Linked DNA regions of Homo sapiens: region 2 is linked to region 1. Evidence: promoter capture Hi-C in human tissues and cell types (Jung and others, 2019). All regions are on one chromosome and are shown on one strand. Each heading gives the region's core, a stretch centred on a gene start or on the middle of the fragment in contact. The rest is flanking DNA. Distances are from core to core; before and after follow the strand shown.

Evidence for each region. Contacts are between HindIII fragments. The study calls those that stand out against the background at their distance.
Region 2: a fragment that was not itself captured here is called in contact with the fragment with the promoter of AGK in region 1 in 1 of the 25 tissues and cell types used here (dorsolateral prefrontal cortex).

Annotation. Positions count from the first base shown.
Region 1 is chr7:141,548,671-141,552,818 of GRCh38, reverse strand. It overlaps AGK (acylglycerol kinase), which reads right to left and starts at 1,409. Exons shown (of 16, transcript NM_018238.4): 1 at 1,385-1,409. It overlaps AGK-DT (AGK divergent transcript), which reads left to right and starts at 1,475. Exons shown (of 6, transcript NR_183408.1): 1 at 1,475-1,675. RefSeq lists silencers at 1,165-1,344, 1,525-1,614. The HindIII fragment of the contact is 6,047 bases long and covers 1-4,142 here.
Region 2 is chr7:140,991,891-140,996,083 of GRCh38, reverse strand. It overlaps LOC105375536 (a long non-coding RNA gene), which reads right to left. Exons shown (of 5, transcript XR_002956518.2): 5 at 2,313-2,351. The region is part of intron 1 of LOC107986720 (a long non-coding RNA gene); the gene reads left to right. Among named protein-coding and RNA genes, the nearest start is that of MRPS33, 21 kb to the left of the region's middle. The HindIII fragment of the contact is 6,404 bases long and covers 1-4,193 here.

The DNA.
Region 1 (4,148 bases), core at 160-2,659:
TGTCTTCAAAGATAAGGGCATTCCTTTCCTCGATCCTATACTTACAGGATGAGCACCTCTCACTGAAGGGTCTTATACAGAAGAAGGTCAAACAATTCTTTTATGGCCTGCTTCAGGGGAGAAAAGTGGGAAGACACAAAGTGACTTTCCTGCTTCAGTTGTTTCCTCTAATGCCAACGAGTCATATTTTGCGGCAGTGTGTCCTGAATCTCATCAACAGCGGAGTAAAAATTGGAGTGTCTAGAACAGGGGTTCTCAACCTTTAGTGCAGAACTTGTTAAAAACACAGAATCCTGGGAACTGCCCCTTCCCGCAAGAGTCTCATTTGTTCTGGAATTAAGCTGTCATCTTCACTTGTTAACAAGTACTCCCATGTTGGTTGCAATGGAGGTCACCACTATACCAGACTTTGAGAAACAGTGGTTTAGAGATAAAGGATTGAAGACCAGGTGGGATTAGAAAAGACCTTGAACCCACACTAAGGACTTTGGCTATTATTTTGAAGACAATGAAAAACCTTTAATGGGCTTTAAGCAGGTGAGTGATATAATCATATTTGAACTGTTAAAAGACCACTTTATAGCAGAATGAAAAATGAACTGGAAGAAGCTAAAATTAAAGCTAAAGAGAACCATTAGGAAGTTATTGCCATAATCTGTAGGCTCCTAAAAGAACAAACCAAGATAAAGGATGGATTTGGAAAGCTTTAGAAAGTAGAAATTGGCAGCAGTTGGTGGTCCATTGACTGTAGTAAGTGAGAGAGGAGGAACCAAGCCAGGTTTTTGTGCTTGGGTGACTGGTTGAATAGTGATTTCAGTCATTTAGATTTGAGTGGTAGGTTTGTGGAGAAAAGTAGTGCGGTTTAGGAGATACTGAATTTGACACGCCTGTGGAGTATCCAGGTGGAAATGTTTTTCTTACTAGATAGTGAACCCCTCATGGGCAAGTTCGTCTATCCATCTGCAGCACCAGAACCTAGTAAAGCGCCAGAATGAATGAACCAACCAACCCATCAATGGATCTGATACTATTGGCCCCATTTTGCAAAGGGCTATGCTGAAGCCCAAGGGACGAAGTGAGGGGGGTCCACAAGTTAGCGACAGCTCTGGGACTCGAACCCAGGACAGCTGACTCCCGCCGTGACCACGGGATCCGCGCGAGGCCCTCCCCTGCCGCGCCGGCCAGGCCCGCACCCCCTACCCTCAAGCCGCGCCGCCGCCTGCACCCACGACCCCTGATGCTTGGGTCCCCGCGGCTCTCGGCCCAGCGCGACTCCAGAGGCTCCGCCCAGCGCCCCGGGCCCCCATCCCGACTCCCACCCCGCTCGCGCGCTCAGTCCCAGCGACCCGCACTGCGCTCCCCGCCTGGGCGCCGCTGCACTCACCACGGCTGGTCCAGCTCGCGGCTCTGCCTTTCCTGTGTGCTCCCTCCAGATTCCCCGGCTCGTTCAAGGGAAACCGCTGCCGCCGCCCTCGGGTTCCGCCGCGGGGCTGCGAGCGCGCGCGGGCCAGTTCGGGCCGGGGGCGGGAACCGGCTCGGATGCTCAGGGACGGTGGGGGTGGCAGGGCCCACCGGCTTGAGGCTGCCTTTCCCGGCGTTCCCTCGTTTATTGGCTCACTCTTCCTTTCATCCATCCATCCTTTGCGCAACAATATTTGATGGGAAGCCTGCCAAGGTAACACTGTTTTAGCACCTGGAACTAAGTCGGAAAATAAATTAACTAAATGAACAAGGCCATTGGAGATGGTGCTCCGTGCCACGAAGAAAATGAAACGAGGTGATGGAAGGCAGTGCGGGAAGGGGGAGAACTGTGTGAAATTAGGCGGCCTGCGCTAGGCCTTCTGAGTAAGGGGCCATTGGTCTGAGACCTGGATGTCAAGAAGGAGCAGCTGAAGCAAAGATCCAGGGGAGAGAGCCTGGAGAGGGAAGGGCCCGTGCAAAAGCTGAAAAGCCTGGGGCACTCTGGCGAGTTGCAGGCCAGTGTGGGTGAGACAGAGAGAGCTAAGGAGACAGGCCAAGCGAGGAAGCTGGAGAGGTGGAGACAGGCCACGGCGGCCAGGAGTTTGGACATGACATTAAACAGGGCGAGAAGACATTGCGGGGGTGCAATCAGGGGCTGGTGGGACTGGTTTCCATTTCACACAGCTCTCTGGCCACAGGTGCTTGATTGGATTCTAGAGAACAAGAGAGCAACGGAGAAGCTAGGCCAATGCCAACCTCCAGACAGTTTACATTCTGTACTCGCCCACCAGATTGGTGTGGGGACAAAGCCAGGTCCTTCTTCTTTCCAGCATTCAGTCTGCCAACTTTTTTTTTTTTTTAGACAGGGTCTCACTCTGTGGCTCAGGCGCTAGTGCAGTGGTGCAATCTCAGCTCACTGCAGCCTCTGCTTCCCGGGTTCAAGCAATTCTTGTGCCTCAGCCTCCCGAGTAACTGGGATTACAGGTGTGTGCCACCAGGCCCAGCTAAATTTTTTTGTATTTTTAGTAAAGACGGGGGTTTTGTCACGTTGGCCAGGCTGGTCTCGAACTCCTGACCTCAAGCGATCTGCCCGCCTTGGCCTCCCAAAGTGCTACGATTATAGGCATGAGCCATCGCACCCGGCCAGTCAACCAACATTTGAGTGTGCACTAGGCCCTGCATCAGGCACTGGGGGTATGCTCAGGTACAAGGCCCTTCATGGTTCCTGCCCCATGGAGCTTGCTATCTAGTCTGCACATTTCCTACGTGTAGACATGCATCCTACCTATGTCTCCCTAGGTGAATGCTTCAAAAAAAAAAGGCCGGGGCGGGGACCTTCAATGAGGCTATGGTGCAGTAAACATATTCCTTATGCCAGGGTGCACCAATCCATTGGGCCACACTGTTTAGTAGCAAGAAATTTCTAGCCCTCTCTCCTGAGTCTCCATCTGTAAACTAGGGGACTGAGAACATTACTATTAAAAAAAAACCCTTCTAGCTCTAAAATGTTGTCATAGGGTATGGAAGACCATTATTTTCAGTTCCTCTTTTCCAACTATCTAAAGCGTTTGTGTTTGGAAATAAGCTTCTGAACTGCTCACCTGCAGGCTAGAAAAATCTGAGACTTGATTTTGATGTTCCAAGGGTCAGACTCAGCGTATGCTTTAGGGCTTCAGCATGAAAGTGGTTCCCCAAATAAGAAAAGGTCAGCTTTGATGAAGGATGAAGAAGGATGGAAATATAGGAGATTAAGGGAATCTGAATACACACCTGCAGGCAGATGTGTAGGTTGGAGTTTTGGAGACCTATACCAATTCTACTCTCTTCCAAATACCATTTTACTAGGATGCATTCAGATTCCAGAATAATCAGGCACAAGCTCTAGCCAGCCCTGAATGGGTTCCTGCAGCCCAACAGAAACCTGACACTCTGACTTAGGCAGCCCCAAGAACTTCTGTTAGGCTGGGCGCAGTGGCTCAAGCCTGTAATCCCAGCACTTTGGGAGGCCAAGATGGGTGGATTGCCTAAGGTCAGGAGTTTGAGACCAGCCTGGCCAATATGGTGAAACTGTCTCTACTAAAAGTACAAAAATTAGCCAAGCGTGGTGGCAGGTGTCTGTAATCCCAGCTACATGGGAGGCTGAGACAAGAGAATTGCTTGAACCTGGGAGGCGGAGGTTACAGTGAGCCGATATCGCGCCATTGCGCTCTAGCCTGGGCAAGAAGAGCAAAACTACCTCTCAAAAAACAAAACAAAACAAAACAAAACTCTTAGTCAAGGATTAACACAAGTTCCCTCTCATAGTCAAAGAGAGTCCTGGAGAGCTTCCTTTGCTGATCCGTGTTAAGGATCTACGATGCCAGAGAAGACTCAGGTCTGACACTCTGGCCCTTAGAGGCCTGGAACAGTGCCTCGGGCACAGTCCCTGAGGCTCAATGGCACATTCATGCCACAGAGAGGACCAAAGACAGATCCAAATGCACACAGCCAGAGAGAAGGGCTTGGCTTATGTACTTCCTTTTCCATGTTCTTTGTTCACTATCACTAACAGCTGAGCGAGGTTCCCAAGGAGCTATTTGGAATTTGCCTGGGTCTTCAGCTCTTGCCTGGGATCGTCAGAGAAGAACATTTTGCACTGTCAAGGATAGGGACTTGTGTCTCTTTTCACAACTAACACATTGCCACAT
Region 2 (4,193 bases), core at 629-3,128, 560 kb after region 1:
ACCTTGTTTTCTAAATACTATTCTCCAACAAAAGAAATTGTGGTTCCTTGGAAAAATAGTGGATTCCAGAGTTGGGAGAGGTTAAGACACAAATTATGCTAAAAAGTGATGAAGTGCCCCCCCATAAAAAAAAGGATGGGGATCTTGTCGAAAGGGCACGAGAGCCAAACTGAAAGAGCCCCCTATGGCCAAGGCTGAAACAATTTGAGCAACAAAATAAATAAGAATACTACTGGATTAAGCATAGTACTATATTATGATAGTACTAGATTAAAACCCAATGGTTAAATAAAAATCTTTGAGTCCATACAGTATAAATAAATTGAGGAGAAGGTACTTTACTTTACAGAAGAATTCCAATTGTAAAATGTAAGGAATAAGGAAATAGAAAATCTCGGTTAGAATATCGCAGTAATAATAACTGCAAGCAGTATCCACTGATGGATGCTAAAACTGATGGGCAAAAGTTTAAGGAGAAGCAGGATATTTGTATGCTCTCAAAGTATCCCCCCCACAAAAAATATTATTTACAAAGAGAAAAGTAGTAACTTTACGGTGGAAAAAAATTTCTTAGTTTTGATAATTATACTCTGGTTATAAGATGTTAACATTAAGGGAAGTTGGGTGAAGAATATACAGGAATTCTCTGTATATTTTTGCAACTTTTTGGTAAGTCTAAAATTTTATTTAAAATTTTTTGAATTGTACTTTCAAAAAGCTTTTTTGGCTGGGCACAGTGGTTCATGCCTGTAATCCCAGCACTTTGGGAGGCCGAGGCAGGTGGATCACCTGAGGCCAGGAGTTCGAGACCAGCCTGGCCAACATGGTGAGACCCTGTCTCTACTAAAAATACAAAAATTAGCTGAACGTGGTGCACACCTGTAGTCCCAGCTACTTGGGAGGCTGAGGCAAGAGAATCGCTTGAACCCAGGAGGCAGAGGTTTCAGTGAGCTGAGAACACACCATTGCACTCCAGCCTGGGCAATAAAGCGAGACTCCATCTCAAAAAAAAAAAAAAAGTTTGTTTTTTTTAAATATGTTTCAGGAAAAAAAAATTGACACAGGGTCTTGTTCTATCACCCAGTCCGGAGGTCAGTGGTGCAATCATGGCTCAATGGCAGCCTCAACCTCCTGGGCTCAAGCAATCCTCCCACCTCAGCCTCTCAAATACCTGGCACTACAGGTGCATGCCACCACACCCAGCTAATTCTTTTACTTTTTGTGGAGCCAGGGTCTCATTATATTGCCCATGTTGGTATTTAAGACTATTTTAAGACAACATAGGCCAAACACAGTGACTCACGCCTGTTATCCCAGCACTTTGGGAGCACTGTGGGAGGATCACTTGAGCCCATGAATTGGAGACCAGCCTGGGAAACAAAGTGAGACCCCGTCTCCACAAGAAAATTAAAAATTAGCTGGGCATGTTAGTGTGTGCCTGTGATTCCAGCTACTCAGGAGACTGACGTGGGAGGATCGCTTGAGCCTGGGAGGTTGAGGCTGCAGTGAACTGTGTTTGGGCCACCGTACTCTAGGCTGGGCAACAGAGATCCTGTCTCAAAAAATTTTTTAAAAATGAATATACGAGTTCATGTATAGAATGCTGTCAGTTATCAAAAGAAAAATGCAAATGAACAAAAAGACTGGAGGAACTATGCCCAAATATTAACATTTGTTGCTTATGAGAGATGAGACTATGGTTGGTTTTCTTTTCTACACTTTCTGAATTTTCCGTCACGAATGCTTACCATTTCATAATAATATGCAAAAAAAAAAACCAAAAAACGTTAAAAGAGCTAAAGGAGGGCGGGGCATGGTGGATTATGCCTGTAATCCTAGCACTTTGGGAGGCCAAGGCAGGTGGATTGCTTGAGCTCAGGAGTTTGAGACCAGCCTGGGCAATATGGTGAAACCCCGTCTCTAGAAAAAAAATACAAACATTACCTGGGTGTGGTGGTGCATGCCTGTAGTTTCAACTACTTGTTGGGGCTGAGGCAGGAGGATTGCTTAAACCTGGGAGGTCGAAGCTGCAATGGGCCAATATCACACCACTGCACTCCAGCCTGGGGGACAAGGTGAGATTCTTATTCAAGAAAAAAGACAAGGCCATGCATGGTGGCTCACACCTGTAATCCCAGCACTTTGTGAGGCCAAGGCAAGAGAATCTCTTGAGTCCAGGAGTTTGAGACCAGCCTGGGCAACATAGGGAGACCCTATCATTACAAAATAAACAAATTAGCCAGGCATAGTGGTACGTACCTGTGATTTCAGCTATTCAAGAGGCTGAGGTGGGAGATCACTTGAGCCTGGGAGGTCGAGGCTGCACTCCAGCCTGGGTGATCGAGCAAGACCTTGACTCAAAAAAAAAAAAAAAGTTGAAGAAAAAGCAAGAGGGACAAAAATGGGAAGAGAGAACATTCCAGGGTGAGGACATAACATGAGGACACAAATGTGGCATTGGAAGATGGCATAGACTTAAAAAGAGTAAGGCTGGGCACAGTGGCTCATGCCTGTAATCCCAGCACTTTGGGAGGCCAAGGCGGGCAGATCACGAGGTCAGGAGATCGAAACCATCCTGGCTAACACGATGAAACCCCGTCTTTACTAAAAATACAAAAAAATTAGCCAGGCGTGGTGGCAGGCCCCTGTAGTCCCAGCTACTCAGGAGGCTGAGGCAGGAGAATGGCGTGAACCAGGGAGGCGGAGCTTGCAGTGAGCTGAGACCGTGCCACTGCACTCCAGCCTGGGCGACAGAGTGAGACTCAGTCTCAAAAAAAAAGAAAGAAAGAATAAGATGTTCGCTATAGCTAGAGCATAAGTGGCATTTTGGGGAAGATTTGAGAGAGAGAGAGAGAAAGAGAGAGAGATCAGGCTGGTGAGATAGGGCCTTGTGGGCCATTGTGAATTTTGGCTTTACCCTCAGATAATGGGGAACTATTAAAGGGACATGGCAGGGTAATGATGTCAGATCCATAGTTTAGAGAGTTTCCTCGGGCAGCCAAACGGACGGTGGACTAAAATAGACTAAAAAAGGTGGAAGGAGGTAAGTCAGGAGAGCACCAGGGTGGTCCATATGACAAATAAGGAGAGATTGATTTGATCAGGGACAGTGGGAATGGTGAAAAAGATCCTTTTAGGTTGGACCCAGGACCAGGAGGACCAGCAAGAGCTATAAGTGCTCCCACGCCAGTCAGTTTCATTTATATTTCCAGGGAAAATGGCCCATATCAGACTCCTAGAAGGCTGGTGCCCTCAGGATTTTAGAGTTAATCCCAGAGCCAGATAAATGGCCAGCCAGACCAGGGCAACAAGTCTGATGGGCGATGTAGGGGCTGGGTCACTCTGGGTCTCCAACCACAACTTGACAGGTCAGCTGGGCAACAGTGGAGCAGAACCCAGGAAGAGCCAGGCCCTCGGGCAGTGTGTAAATCCCACACAGGGATACAGGAACCCAGAGGCAGAGTGATCCCTGAGAGATAAGAGGTCCACCTTTGCCAACAAGGGGCTGGAGCTCTCGGTAAACAAGCAGCTCTGCTGCTGTGAGGCAAATGGCCCTGGGTGCTCTCTGTAGCTGGTTCACAGGCAGTTCAATTCTGGATGGAGAGGCTGGCATAAGTATGCCATAAGTATGGCATAAGTAGAAGAGAAAAAAAAGATGACAAAGTCATTACCACATTAAAAATCAAAAGTGGATACATTGAGTTAGACTTAAGGGAAAGTAAAGATTAACTGACACAAATTTGATTATACACAGCCTTTTAAAAATACCCCTATGATGTAAAAATTGAGGTTTGTCTATTTTGTGTTTTCTCTGCTTTGGATCTCTTCCCTTCTTTGCCCGTAGCTTGTGGTGGGAGACCAGCAGGGGTAAAAACATGACTTTCTTTCCTAGTGTCACGAGACCTACATTTTTTGTTGTTGTTGTTTTTTTGTTTTTGTTTTCCTCAAGTGCCTTGTCAATTAGTGTGAATTCACTAAGGCAATTATGCTCGCAGGATGGGCTCAATCCACCTACTGAGAATCATCAGGGGCTTCTCTGAGTCAGCAGGCTGGGCTGCAGCCCAGGAATCTGCATTCCCAACAAGCTCTTCCAGGTGTTAAATATGCCTCTAAAACATGAGAATCCCTTTTAGGAATTCTGGTGGAAGCAAAATTGAAAGAGATAAACTCTGGTTCCAAGCTGCTTATTTACT